3 separate regions of the Homo sapiens genome follow, and regions 1 and 2 are each linked to region 3. The links are contacts of gene promoters, found by promoter capture Hi-C in blood cells and fetal thymus (Javierre and others, 2016). All regions are on one chromosome and are shown on one strand. The core of a region is centred on a gene start or on the middle of the fragment in contact, and the rest is flanking DNA. Distances in the headings are between cores, read along the strand shown. Region 1 overlaps ZNF200 (zinc finger protein 200). Region 2 overlaps OR1F1 (olfactory receptor family 1 subfamily F member 1). Region 3 holds the start of OR2C1 (olfactory receptor family 2 subfamily C member 1).

What was found. The method cuts DNA at HindIII sites, captures the fragments that hold promoters and counts their contacts. A CHiCAGO score of 5 or more calls a contact.
Region 1: a fragment that was not itself captured here is called in contact with the fragment with the promoter of OR2C1 in region 3 in 3 of 17 cell types (erythroblasts, M1 macrophages and monocytes); the score reaches 5.5 in erythroblasts.
Region 2: a fragment that was not itself captured here is called in contact with the fragment with the promoter of OR2C1 in region 3 in 4 of 17 cell types (erythroblasts, M1 macrophages, monocytes and 1 more); the score reaches 8.1 in erythroblasts.

The regions. Positions count from the first base shown.
Region 1 is chr16:3,223,035-3,227,926 of GRCh38, forward strand. It overlaps ZNF200 (zinc finger protein 200), which reads right to left. Exons shown (of 5, transcript NM_198088.3): 5 at 1-1,579. The coding sequence ends at 858. Among named protein-coding and RNA genes, the nearest start is that of ZNF200, 9.7 kb to the right of the region's middle. The HindIII fragment of the contact is 1,283 bases long and covers 1,181-2,463 here.
Region 2 is chr16:3,200,997-3,205,391 of GRCh38, forward strand. It overlaps OR1F1 (olfactory receptor family 1 subfamily F member 1), which reads left to right. Exons shown (of 4, transcript NM_001370640.6): 4 at 3,239-4,395. The coding sequence starts at 3,251. The coding sequence ends at 4,189. Among named protein-coding and RNA genes, the nearest start is that of TRP-AGG1-1, 11 kb to the left of the region's middle. The HindIII fragment of the contact is 1,050 bases long and covers 2,148-3,197 here.
Region 3 is chr16:3,352,296-3,357,292 of GRCh38, forward strand. It overlaps OR2C1 (olfactory receptor family 2 subfamily C member 1), which reads left to right and starts at 3,594. Exons shown (of 1, transcript NM_012368.3): 1 at 3,594-4,997. The coding sequence starts at 3,646. The coding sequence ends at 4,584. The HindIII fragment of the contact is 3,889 bases long and covers 3,177-4,997 here.

The DNA of each region.
Region 1 (4,892 bases), core at 572-3,071, 130 kb before region 3:
GGTCTTGGGGTTTCCTTCGTAGCACATGAGATCTGGGCTCAACAGAGGGACAAGATTCTGAAGAGCTTTTCTAGTGGTGGGGCTGGATGGCCCTGCCTGAGTAATCCAAACTTCTTTTAGCAAGGGAGAAGCATGAGACGGCTGCTGGAGAGATCAACAGCAGAACAAAATACAATAAGAACAGTAGACACCTAAATTATGTTGTGAAAAGGAATCTGTAAAAGTCAGTTTTATCACAAATTGTAAATATTATTGAAATTGATTGCAAATTTAGATCACATACAAATGAGAGTCTGACATTCAACTGTTTTCCTATATTCCAAAGTAAACAATTCCTTTCAACACTCAAGACTTAAACAGGTATTCTTAGAGGGTTATATGAATTGCTATCAGAAGCTGTTGGCTAACAAGCCAGTAATTTGGTTCTTTCACCAGAACACAGTTCCAGATAAGCATCTTTGCACTATTTCTCAAGTATGAATCCCCATGTGGGGGGAAAACGGATATACTTTCAATAGACACAAGTCACTCTTTGCCTTCCAAGTAAGCAGACTCCAGATTCATCTTCAAAGTGTTGGGAAAGGGGATCTGTGACCTGTACATTATCATATAACTTCAAAAAGGAAAGCTCCTTAGTCCAAAAAGCCTAGATGCTGAGGTATAGCCCTTGAAATGTTTTCTTCCCTGTGAATTTTCTAGCAATTTGAGGTTTTAGCTAAGATGGGCATTTATCCAATTTTGGCAATAATGAGATTTTTACACATTTATACCTTTTTAGGCAGCTTGGGAATTCAGAACTACTTATGAAAGCTCTCAGGTTGAGGCAGCACCATCAGACCCAGAAAGGGTTCCCAGTATTACTTCTGCTTTCGGGTCTTACAGGCTGAGTGGGTTTTCTCATGCCGGGTACAGTTTGACAGCCGACCAAATCTTCTCCCACATTTTTTGCAACCATATGGTCTCTCAGCCTCATGACTCTGCAGATGAAGCACAAACTCCTCATTCTTTGGGAAGGTTTTCCCACATTCTGGACACTTAAATATCTTCTCCCTTATATGGATTCCTTCATGACGACTCCGATGAGAATTCTGACGGAAGTTTTTTCCACACTGAGAACAGGAATAAGGTTTCTCTCCTGTATGAATTCGCTCATGTTTATTGAGGTTTGTTTTATGATTGAAGCTTTTCCCACAGTGATTACAGTCATAGGGTTTTTCTCCAGTGTGGGTCCTCTGGTGGGAAATGAGGTAAGAACTTTCATTAAACTGTTTCCCACACAGTGGACAAGTGTACCATCTCCTTGTCCTCCGATTTCGAGTAAGGGCAATAATACTGATGTCTACATATTTTGAGAGTTCCTCTAGAGGAGTATCATTCTCAATGGTAACTAACAGATTTCTCATTTTCCTTTTTTGTGGAATGGATGTATTTAGTCGTTCCTTTTCCTGGTTATCGGGAGGCTGCTGAGAGACCAAGGAAGAATCCATTTCATCATCATCTGAAGACTTTTCTCTATAATCTTCATTTTCTACAGGTTCCCTCTCAGGATCTTCACCTTCAGGATTACTGCCATTGACTGCTGAAACAAAGAGAGAATTTAACAACTTCTGAGAGATATCACAACACCAGGCAGGAAAAAACAAGTCAGGTTTCTTATGCCACAGCCACCTTGAACGTCAATCTGGGGAGTGGCGGATACTGCCGTCGCACTCCTTTTCCATACTTATTGAGGGTGGGATACATAACTGATAAATCTTTCCATCTACCACAATGCAAGCACACTTTAAAGAAATAAAATGAGTGGGATTTCACTGAAAGACTTCAAATGTTTGTTCTCTTCATAGGTGTTAATTACTCGACAAGTTCATATTCACCTTATACTCTGTAGAGCACTCAGGTAAGGACTAGGGATGAAGACTATACATCTATACAGGGAACCACTCATCATCTTGAAGGAGTCTGGTAACTGAATAGTAAGACGAACCACTTGTAGGTTTTCACTATATTAAATATTATCACACTATTATAGCACTAAATAATATCATAATGTCTTACAATGAGAAAATTGAAACAATTCCAATAAGCAAAATTAAAGAGGGCACAGCATATTCATACAAAAGTTTATTATTGGCCAGGCGTGGTGGCTCACACCTGTAATCCCAGCACTTTGGGAGGTCAAGGCGAGCAGATCACCCAAGGCTGGGAGTTCAAGACCAGCCTGACCATCGTGGAGAAACCCTGTCTCTACTAAAAATACAAAATAAGCTGGGCATGGTGGCACATGCCTGTAATCTCAGCTACTAGGGAGGCTGAGGCAGGAGAATCACTTGAAACCGGAAGGCAGAGGTTGCAGTGAGCCGAGATCGCGCCATTGCACTCCAGCCTGGGCAACAAGAGCGAATCTGTCTCAAAACAGAAAAAAGTTTATTATTTGGCAATTAAAGAGATTACTACAACTAATGAAGCTTTGGGATTAGAAGTCAGTAGTGTTTCTCTTTGTGTAGGAAAGGAAGTAGTGAGTGGGTACAGGGCACAAAAGGGATTTTTGGGATGCTAAGAAAAGTCCATTTTGGGTGGTGCTTAGTGTGTACATTTTGTGAAAACTTGAGCTATATATTTACAATTGGTAGGCTTTTTCTATATTTCCATTATACTTCAGAAAAAAGTCAGTGTAAGCAGATTATAAAGACTGGGTAACAAAGTGAAAAAGAACCATGCTGTGGATATACTTGTGTGACAAGGGACCCCTCAACTCAGGCCTACTGAGAGTCAAGGGTTCAAATCAACCACCAAGACATGGGGGCTGATCCTGAAGCTGGAGTTGGAATCTCTGCTGGATTCAGCAGTTTCACACCAATAGATTTTTTTTTATTTCACTTTTTTTTTTTTTTGGCAGAGATAGGGTCTTGCTATGTTGCCTAGGCTGGTTTTGCACTCGTGTACTCAAGCAATCTTCCCAAAGTGCTGGGGATTACAGGTGTAAGCCCCCACACCCAGCCTTAATTATTTTTTCTTTCTTTTTTTTTTTTTTTTTTTGAGATGGAGTCTCGCTTTGTCGCCCAGGTTGGAGTGCAATGGCACCATCTCAGTTCACTGCAAGCTCCGCCTCCTGGGTTCACTCCATTCTCCTACCTGAGCCTCCCCAGTAGCTGGGACTACAGACGTCCACCACCGCGCCCAGCTAATTTTTTGTATTTATAGTAGAGAGAGGGTTTCATCGTGTTAGCCAGGATGGTCTTGATGATCTCCTGACCTCGTGATCCACCCGCCTAGGCCTCCCAAAGTGCTGGGATTACAGGCATGAGCCACTGCGCCCGACCTAATTATTCTTTTTAATCACTCCCTTAGGATAATGAAATGTCAATTTTTACCATAGCTCTTGACATGAACTACCATTCTGCTTTCAAAAACAGCTCTACTAATTTCATGTGAATATTAACTTTACCTAATCTTGTTAGCATTAAATTTTAAAATATTTAATAGGTATAAAATAGTTTCTCATTGTAGTTTTACTTTGGATTTTCATTATGCAAAATAATCTACTGGGTTAAGGCTTTTATAAATGTATATCTTTGTCAATGATTTCTTGTCTAAATAATTTTTAACTCAACTCTTCCTCTTTAACTACACTTGGACTGCTTCCAACCTTGTGTTTTTACAAACAATACCACAGTGAATAATCTTCTTTGTACATCATTTCGAATGTGTTCTGTTGCTATATCTGTAGGTCAGATTTCCAGAATTGAACTCCTGGAACAAAGGATAAGATGGGTAGTTACAGATGCAATTACCCTTATACAGGGACTATACCATTTTATATGCCCACCAGCAATATACCTGTTTCTCAACAACCTCACCATCAATGTGTTTTTATTTCTATAAATATGAAATACGCAAAATGTTAATTCACTAGAGGCTTAATTTGCACTTCTTTTTGCTCCTGTCACGCAGGCTGGAGTGCAGTGGCGTGATCTCGGCTCACTGCAACCTCCACCTCCTGGGTTCAAGTGATTCTCCTTCCTCAGCCTCCCGAGTAGCTGGGATTATAGGCATGCCCCACCACATCCAGCTAATTTTTGTATTTTTAGTAAAAATGGGGTTTTGCCATGTTGGCCAGGCTGGTCTCAAAACTCCTGACCTCAGGTGATCCACCTGCCTCGGCCTCCCAAAGTGCTGGGATTACAGGCGTGAGCCACCATGCCCCAGCCTTTTGTACGTATTTGAATCTGTCAATCTTTTCTTTCAAGGCTTCTGGGCTTTTGAGTCTTAATTACAAAAACCTTCCTATCCCATGGTTATAAAGGAATCACTCATATTTTCTAAATGTGCTTTTTATATTTGTTTTAAACATTTAAAATCTTTGATCCATGTGGACTTTTTCTTGGTATGTAAAGTAAGGTACTAATTTATCAAGTGGCTGTCAGTCGTCCTAACACCTTTTATCAAAAAGTCCCCCTTTATGGTTAGGCTTTGTGTCCTCGCCCAAATCTCATCTTAAATTGTAATCCCACATGTCAAGGAGACATCAGGTGAAGGTAACTGAGTCATGGGCGGGGGGGCCTTCCCCCATGCTATTCTCATGATAGTGAGTTCTCATGAGATCTGATGGTTTTATAAGGGGCTCTTCCCCCTTTACTCGTACTTCTCCCTCCTGCTGCCTTGTGAAGATGATGCCTTGCTTCCTCTTGCCTTTGCCATGATTTTAAGTTTCTGGAGGCCTCCCCAGCCATGCTGAACTGTGAGTCAATTAAACCTGTTTCCTTTATAAATTACCAAGTCTCGGACAATTCTTTATACCAGTGTGAAAATGGACGAATACACCAACTTTATCACACACTAAACTCCCATGTGTATTTGAGGCTATTTCGGGACTTTCTGAGATCACAGTCTTG
Region 2 (4,395 bases), core at 1,423-3,922, 150 kb before region 3:
TTAATAACCTTTAATCTACTTCCTGTCTCTATGGATTTGCCTACTCTAGACATTTCATCTAAGTAGAATAATACATTATGTGTTCTTTTGTATCTGGCTTCTTTCACTTAGCATAATGTCTCAGGGTTCATCCACATTGTAGTGTGTGTCAGTGCTTCATTCCTTTTTTATGGATGAATGATATTCCATCATAAGGATCTACCACATTTTGTTTATCTATTCATCTGTTGATGGATACTTGTGTTATTTTCACATTTTGGCCATTGTGACTAATGTACAATAATTGTTGTACAAATATCTGTTTGAGTCCCTGTTTTCAATTCTTTTGGGTACAAACCTAGGAATGGAATTGCTGGATTGTATGGTAATTGTATGTTTAGCTCCTGGGGGAACAACCCAACTGTTTTCCCCAGCAGCTGCATCATTTTACCTTCTCACCAGCAATGTAGAGCTCTAGTTTCTCTACATCCTTGCCAACACTTGTCATTTTTGTCTGCTTGTTTAATTATTGCCAAATACGTGGAGGAAAAGGGGAATTCCTATCCTCCTCCATTTAGTCCTGGTGACAATGTCCATCACTGGATTCCCGCATGGAATGGATTGAGCTGATGATCCAGAATGATGAGAGTACTCTGTTCTTCCATGCAGAATGGTTTGTTCAGGTTTGGACACATGACCCACGAAGGGATGATCACAACCTTACCTGGAGTTGAGGTAGGAAGCAGGGCTCGGACACTGGACCAAATTGAGGATTAGCTAAAAGAGATGGGGCGGAAGCAGCTTTCCATAAGACATACCCACCAGTGACACCCAGGCGTCACTGCCCCTTTCCATGGCAATGACTCAGTGACCCAAACGTTACTACCCCTTCCCTAGAAATTTCTGCATAAACTGCACCTTATTCTACATGTACTTAAAAATGGGTATAAATATGGCTGCAAAACTCCCTAGAGCTGTTACTCTCAGCACACTGCCTATGGGGGAGCCCTCCTCTGCAGGAGCAGTCAGGCAGCTGTAACACTGCCTGCTGCTTTAGTAAAGCTGTTTTCTTCTACCACTGGCTCGCCCTTGTATTCTTTCCTGGGCAAAGCCAAGAACCCTTGCAGACTAGGCCTCACTTTGGGGCTCGCTTGTCCTGCATCAGTACAATGTTATTAATAAATAAACATTGGTAGAGGGAAGTTTCATGTGCCCTGTGGCTGCTAGTCTGGAAGGATGTGAATTTGGAGCCACTGTTGGACATCTTGCTGCCACATGAGGAGAGGTAATCTGCAGAATGAAGCTGAGCAGAAGCCAATGCAGTAGTGAGATAGAGAAATACAGGGTCTTGATGTTATCATTCAGCTCCCTGAATTTGGTCTGGCCTGAAACACAAAGGCTTTGCAAGAAGACACCTTGGATTTTGTAATGACATTAACCTGTCATTTCTCCCTAGGCTGATATGAGTTGGTTTTCTATCGCTTGCAAATAATGTCTTTGCTAATTCAGTGTCCATTCTCCTCCTCCTCCCCAGATCTTTCGTAATTAGCTTTATGGGTTGTTTGTTGTTCTTGTTGTTTGTTTGTTTTTAAGACGAATTCTCGCTCTGTTGCCCAGCCTGGTGGGCATGGTAGTGCACGCCTGTAGTACCTTGCCTGGGCAACAAGAATGAAATTCCATCTCAAAATAATAATAATAATAATAATAATAATAATAATAATAATAATAATAACAATTTAATATCTTCAGCCTTCACCTAGTGGACATGGTCTTAGCCCAGTGCATTGATGAGGTTAAGAGTCACGAGATATTTAACATAAATTACCTAGTTTAGTTATTACAACCCTACAAGGTGAATATTATTTCTCCACTCTATAGATGATGGGAGCTGGTGATTCAGTGGAGGTTACTAGCTTTTCTAAGGCTATACAACTGGTAATGGTGGATCTGGAAATTGAGTGCTGGTCTGTGAAAATCCAAAGGTTATCTTCTTAATCCCAGTACAGCTTCACAGGTATCTCCCAACAAGATCAGCATCCCAGCTGGGTGGGGGATAAAATACAGGGTCGTGAGTTTCCTCTAGCAGAAGGATTGTTGCCAATGATTACCCCTTAGATTGCATCACTTTCAGTGTTGCCAAGTGCTGAGGCAGGAATTATGTATGACAAAGCTTTATCGTCAGTGTCGGACACAAAAGAGCCAAGGAGGGGAAGGGACAATTACTCTCTGCTTTTCTCAATGAGGCTCTCAGGGAATATGACCCTAGTGGCCATGGAGGCTCCTGTGAAGAGCTTGCCCTGTGATTCTTCCAAACATCCTTCCTGCATCAAGGGCTGAGTCTGTGCAGCCCAGCTCCTGATTCATGAGATACTCAGCCTCAAAGCTCCAGTGACGAGTCACCCTCCCTCAGACCAATAACCTCTGGCCAGGTCTGAAAAAGGGAAGCCAACCCAGGACTTCAGGAGACAGTGAGGACTGCTGCTCTTTCTGGGTAAGAGTCAGATCATTGGCCAGGTGTGGTGGCTCACGCCTGTAATCCCAGCACCTTGGGAGGCCAAGGCGGGCGGATCACGAGGTCAAGAGATAGAGACCATCATGGCCAACATGGTGAAACCCCGTCTCTACTAAAAATACAAAAATTAGCTGGGCGTGGTGGCACGTGCCTATAATCCCAGCTACTTGGGAGGCTGAAGCAGGAGAATCACTTGAACTAGGGAGCTGAAGGTTGCAGCGAGCCAAGATCTCGCCACTGCACTCTAGCCTGGCGACAGAGCGAGACTCCGTTTAAAAAAAGAAATAAAAAGAGTCACATCAGTGGGACTTCACTGATAACTGCTTGTCAGGACTTAAAGCCTCAGAGGGACCCTCCTTCCTTTCAATTATGTGGAGCCAGAAAAACAGTCCTGAGCTCAGCAGCAGTCCCTTGCAATCACCCAGTCAGGACCAGCCTCTGTCCCGTCTGTCTGACATCCTGAACTGTGGGGAACACAAACTGACTGAGTTTCTGCCCAGACCTCTGGGTTGTTCCATTTTAATTTTACAAATTGGACTCAGGGTGCTCCGTGGATATAGCCAAGAAGGCCTGGCTCAGACTTCTGTAAACCTGAGCCCTGAACATAGCAGTAGCAGCCCCAGCAGGGTTGACAATATTATCATTTACATCCTGCAAGCAAAATTCTACTGCCATTCCTGTGCCCCATCTTAACCAGCATTTTCCAAGCTTTTGCATTTCGTCTTCTTTGTCTGCCTCTGTGTCCAGGATCCCAGGCCCATGAGCGGGACAAACCAGTCGAGTGTCTCCGAGTTCCTCCTCCTGGGACTCTCCAGGCAGCCCCAGCAGCAGCATCTCCTCTTTGTGTTCTTCCTCAGCATGTACCTGGCCACTGTCCTGGGGAACCTGCTCATCATCCTGTCCGTAAGCATAGACTCCTGCCTGCACACCCCCATGTACTTCTTCCTCAGCAACCTGTCTTTTGTGGACATCTGCTTCTCCTTCACCACCGTCCCCAAGATGCTGGCCAATCACATACTCGAGACTCAGACCATCTCCTTCTGTGGCTGTCTCACACAGATGTATTTCGTTTTCATGTTCGTGGACATGGACAATTTCCTCCTAGCTGTGATGGCCTATGACCACTTTGTCGCCGTGTGCCACCCCTTACATTACACAGCAAAGATGACCCATCAGCTCTGTGCCCTGCTGGTTGCTGGATTATGGGTGGTTGCCAACCTGAATGTCCTTCTGCACACCCTGCTGATGGCTCCACTCTCATTCTGTGCAGACAATGCCATCACTCACTTCTTCTGCGATGTGACTCCCCTACTGAAACTCTCCTGCTCAGACACACACCTCAATGAGGTCATAATCCTTAGTGAGGGTGCCCTGGTCATGATCACCCCATTTCTTTGCATCCTGGCTTCTTATATGCACATCACCTGCACTGTCCTGAAGGTCCCATCCACAAAGGGAAGGTGGAAAGCCTTCTCCACCTGTGGTTCTCACCTGGCTGTGGTTCTCCTCTTCTACAGCACCATCATTGCTGTGTATTTTAACCCTCTGTCCTCCCACTCAGCTGAGAAAGACACTATGGCTACTGTGTTGTATACAGTAGTGACTCCCATGCTAAACCCTTTCATCTACAGCCTGAGGAACAGGTACTTGAAAGGGGCTCTGAAAAAAGTAGTTGGCAGGGTGGTGTTTTCTGTCTGATGAAATAATCAAGACTGAATCTCATTCCCAAGGAAATTTATTTTTCACCAATTGAGTTTAATGCAGTAGTTGTTTCATTAAATGATGTTCTTGCTAGTGACACACTTAGTAATTATACTAAGTTAAACTATTAATTATAATTTTTTTTGAGACAGGGTCATGCTCTGTCACCCAGGCTGGAGTGCAGTGCCGTGATCTTGGCTCAC
Region 3 (4,997 bases), core at 2,344-4,843:
TAGTAGAGACGGGGTTTCACTTTGTTCGCCAGGATGGTCTTGGTTTCCTGACCTCGTGATCCACCCGCCTCGGCCTCCCAAAGTGTTGGGATTACAGGCGCGAGCCACCATGCCTGGCCAAATTTTAATGTTTTTAAACTTATGATGTTTTAATGTTTTTAAATTTTAATGTTTTTAAACTTATGAGTTTGAATGTTTTTAAACTTACTGATGTCTCTTAGAAGTAATAATTTACATAAATTTACTATTAACTATGTATTTTTTTCTTTCATTCATCCTTAATTGACTTTTTCTAAGATTCAAACTCCCCCATTTCTAGTTCTTGAATTCTAAGATTTGGGGAGGGGAAAAATCCCTGTTCACTTTGTCTAATACCAGCCCCCCACAGACCAAACAACTTTGGAAGAAGATGAGCAGTGTCTTTCTGTCTGTTTCTTTCTTTCTTTTTTTTTTTTTTTTTTCTGAGGTAGAGTTTCACTCTTGTTGCCCAGGCTGGAGTGCAATGGCATTATCTCAGCTCACTGCAAACTCCGCCTCCTGGGTTCAAGTGATTCTCCTGCCTCAGCCTCCTGAGTAGCTGGGATTACAGACATGTAGCACCACGCCCGGATAATTTTTTTTTATTTTTAGTAGAGACATGTTTCACCATGTTGGCCAGGATGGTCTCGAACTCCCGACCTCAAGTGATCTGCCTGCCTCGGCCTCCCAAAGTGTTGAGATTACAGGCGTCAGCCACTGCGCCCGGCCCTGTCTATTTCTTTGCCCTAAAGGGACACAAGGGAACAAGCACCTGAACTGGCAGGAGGTAGTAGAATGGGTTTCAGGAAGAACTTCTGAAAAGAAAGATGAGCTGATTATCCGGTTAGTAACTCAGTTCCTCAGCTCTCTTAAGTCCTAGATGAAAAGAATAAGTAGGCCGGTCGCGGTGGCTCACGCCTGTAATCCCAGCACTTTGGGAGGCTGAGGCGGGCAGATCACGAGGTCAAGAGATCGAAACCATCCTGGCCAACATGGTCAAAACCCCATCTCTACTAAAAACACAAAAATGAGCTGGGGATGGTGGTGTGCACCTGTAGTCCCAGCTACTTGAGAGGCTGAGGCAGGAGAATTGCTTGAACTCAGGAGGTGGAGGTTGCAGTGAGCCGAGATCCCGCCACTGCACTCCAGCCTGGTGACAGAGCGAGACTCCGTCTCAAAAAAAAAAAAAAAAAAAAGAATAAGTAGGCCGGGAATGGTAGCTCATGCTTGTAATCCCAACACTTTGGGAGGCCAAGGTAGGCAGATAACCTGAGGCCAGGAGTTCAAGACCAGCCTGGCCAACATGGTGAAACCCCGCCTCTACTAAAAATACAAAAATTAGTCAGGCGTGGTGGTGCACTCCTGTAATCCCAGCTACTTGGTTGGCTGAGGCAGGAGAATCGCTTGAACCTGGGAGGCAGAGGTTGCAGTGAGCTGAGATCACGCCACTGCACTCCAGCCTGGGTGACACTGCTAGACTCCATCTCAAAAAAAGAGAAAGAAGGAAGGAAGGAAGGAAGGAAGGGGAAGGGCTGTGGTTTATGATCTTCAGAAAAGTTGAGATCCTGGCCAAGGAAAGGGGATGGTGATTGGCCCATTATTAACAAGAGCTGATTTTTTTGTTCATGAGATGGGTTTTTTGTTTGTTTGTTTGTTTTTCTTTTCTTTTCTTTTTTTTTTTTTTTTTTGAGACAGAGTCTAGCTCTGTTGCCCAGGCTGAAGTGTAGTAGTGCAATCTCAACTCACTGCAACTTCCGCCTCCCTGTTTCAAGTGTTTCTGCTGCCTCAGCCTCCTGAGTAGCTGGGGCTGCAGGCGCCCGCCACCATGCCCGACAAATTTTTTGTATTATTAGTAGAGACGGGGTTTCACCATGTTGGCCAGGCTGATCTCAAACTCTTGGCCTCAAGTGATCTGCCCACTTTGACCTCCCAAAGTGTTGGGATTACAGGCGTGAGCCACTGTACCCGGTCTCATGAGATGTTAAGAATTATTTGATGATTTAGACGTGGACACAGTAGTTATATACCTCAAAAGAGGGATCTCCTCTGTAAATCTTCTAATTTCCCTTACTAATTATGAATACCCATTAACTATTTTAACCCCTTTTTGTGTAACCTCTGTTTATATCTTTTGCCTTTTCCACCTAAACTTATTTAAGCTTAAGTGAAGTTTTGTTTGCTCTACATTGACCTCCTCTTAAATTGTACATTCCCAGCTTCTGTATTTGGAGCATAAGTCTGTATCTACTCTTTCCATTATTTCTGTGACTTTATAGATTCATCATGTTATTCCTCAAACATCATCTTTCTAGATCCAGCACTGAGGTAAAACTCAGAGGGGAGGGATGTAGAAGAGAGCAGAGGAAATTTAACAGAAAATTCTGGGGAGCTTTTCCAAATACAATGTGTCTGCTTCCCCCCTTCCCTGAGCGTATCAGAATCTTGGCTGGGGAAATGTGTTGTTGCTGTTGTTTTCAAGAGATAGGGTCTCCCTCTGTCACTCAGGCATTGGAGTACAGGGGCTCACTGCTGCCTTGAACACTGGGGCTCAAGAGATCCTCCCACCTCAGCCTCTTAAAATGCTGGGATTACAGGTGTGAGCCACCATGCCTGACTGAAATTTCAGTCTGACTGAAAGTTTTTGAGAACTTTCACATCTAATTCTAATGGTCAACTCTCTCTATCCCGTCATAGCCATTGTTCTGAACTGAAGGGCTCTTCAGTTCTTGGGGTCTTTTGGTTTTGTCATCATGAGGCACTTCCTTCATTTCCGTGTTAGCTCATACCTGACATTCTGATGGAATCAACTTTTCCATTCGGTGTGTAACCAACAGTAGATGGGGATTACAACAGAAGTTTGAAATCTAGGCCACGCACGGTGGCTCACACCTGTAATCCCAGCTTTTTGAGAGGCTGAGGCTGGCATATCACGAGGTCAGGAGTTCGAGACCAGCCTGGCCAACATGGTGAAACCCCGTCTCTACTAAAACAAAAATTAGCCAGGCATGGTGGTGCATGCCTGTAGTCCCAGCTACTCGTGAGGCTGAGGCAGGAGAATTGCTTGCACCTGGGAGGCGGAAGTTGCAATGAGCCGAGATTGCACCACTGCACTCCAGCCTGGGTGACAGAGCGAGACTCTGTCTCAAAAAAAAAAAAAAAGCTTGCAATCTTAAAAAGTAAGTTGGAGTCCAGGTGCAGTGGTTCATGCCTGTAATCCCAGCACTTTGGGAGGCTGAGGCAGATGGATCACTTGAGCCCAAGAGTTGGAGACAACCCTGGGCAACATGGCAAAACCCCATCTCTACAAAAAATACAAAAGTTATTTGGATGTGGTGGCACACACCTGTGGTCACAGTTACTTGGGAGGCTGAGACAAGAGGATTGCTTGAGCCAGGGAGAAGGAGGTTGCAGTGAGCTGAGATTGTGCCACTGCACTCCAACCTGGGTGACAGTGAGAGACTCTGTCTCAAAAAACAAACAAAAAATAGGTTGTTACTTAACTATGGATCCCAGAGAACTATTAGACCGTTCCTGATGCAAATCCACCTCATCCAACAGCTTTTTCTTGACTTTTCTTCCAGCAGCTTGCGCTAAATGAATTCATCAAGTGACTGAAGACAACCAGTGATGGACGGGGTGAATGATAGCTCCTTGCAGGGCTTTGTTCTGATGGGCATATCAGACCATCCCCAGCTGGAGATGATCTTTTTTATAGCCATCCTCTTCTCCTATTTGCTGACCCTACTTGGGAACTCAACCATCATCTTGCTTTCCCGCCTGGAGGCCCGGCTCCATACACCCATGTACTTCTTCCTCAGCAACCTCTCCTCCTTGGACCTTGCTTTCGCTACTAGTTCAGTCCCCCAAATGCTGATCAATTTATGGGGACCAGGCAAGACCATCAGCTATGGTGGCTGCATAACCCAGCTCTATGTCTTCCTTTGGCTGGGGGCCACCGAGTGCATCCTGCTGGTGGTGATGGCATTTGACCGCTACGTGGCAGTGTGCCGGCCCCTCCGCTACACCGCCATCATGAACCCCCAGCTCTGCTGGCTGCTGGCTGTGATTGCCTGCCTGGGTGGCTTGGGCAACTCTGTGATCCAGTCAACATTCACTCTGCAGCTCCCATTGTGTGGGCACCGGAGGGTGGAGGGATTCCTCTGCGAGGTGCCTGCCATGATCAAACTGGCCTGTGGCGACACAAGTCTCAACCAGGCTGTGCTCAATGGTGTCTGCACCTTCTTCACTGCAGTCCCACTAAGCATCATCGTGATCTCCTACTGCCTCATTGCTCAGGCAGTGCTGAAAATCCGCTCTGCAGAGGGGAGGCGAAAGGCGTTCAATACGTGCCTCTCCCATCTGCTGGTGGTGTTCCTCTTCTATGGCTCAGCCAGCTATGGGTATCTGCTTCCGGCCAAGAACAGCAAACAGGACCAGGGCAAGTTCATTTCCCTGTTCTACTCGTTGGTCACACCCATGGTGAATCCCCTCATCTACACGCTGCGGAACATGGAAGTGAAGGGCGCACTGAGGAGGTTGCTGGGGAAAGGAAGAGAAGTTGGCTGAGAGAACACTCCTTCGTTATTTATTGCGTCTTCATCTCTACATGCGTTTCTCATTAACTCTCTCTGGCCAGGTGAACATGAGGAATACTAATTCCGGTAAAACCAAGGCATGTTCCTGACAGCCCTAAGCTGACAGCCCTAAGCTGTTGGGAACATGGTTAGTGTTATTCGTAATGTTCTACACTTATTTACCAAAAATCCTACTGTGGACTACCGATAGCAGGGGAGACATGTTGTTGAGGGCTCAGAGGTTATTGACCTGTGACAGACCTGTCTCACTGTCTCTGTCTCTGTTGCCCACATGTTATTTAATATGCCTTATATTTCTGCAGAATTCTGTACTTTTCTAAGCAAAGCACCTCCACTTGCAGTATCTTACATAATGTTACTATAATTCCATAAAATCAAGCCATG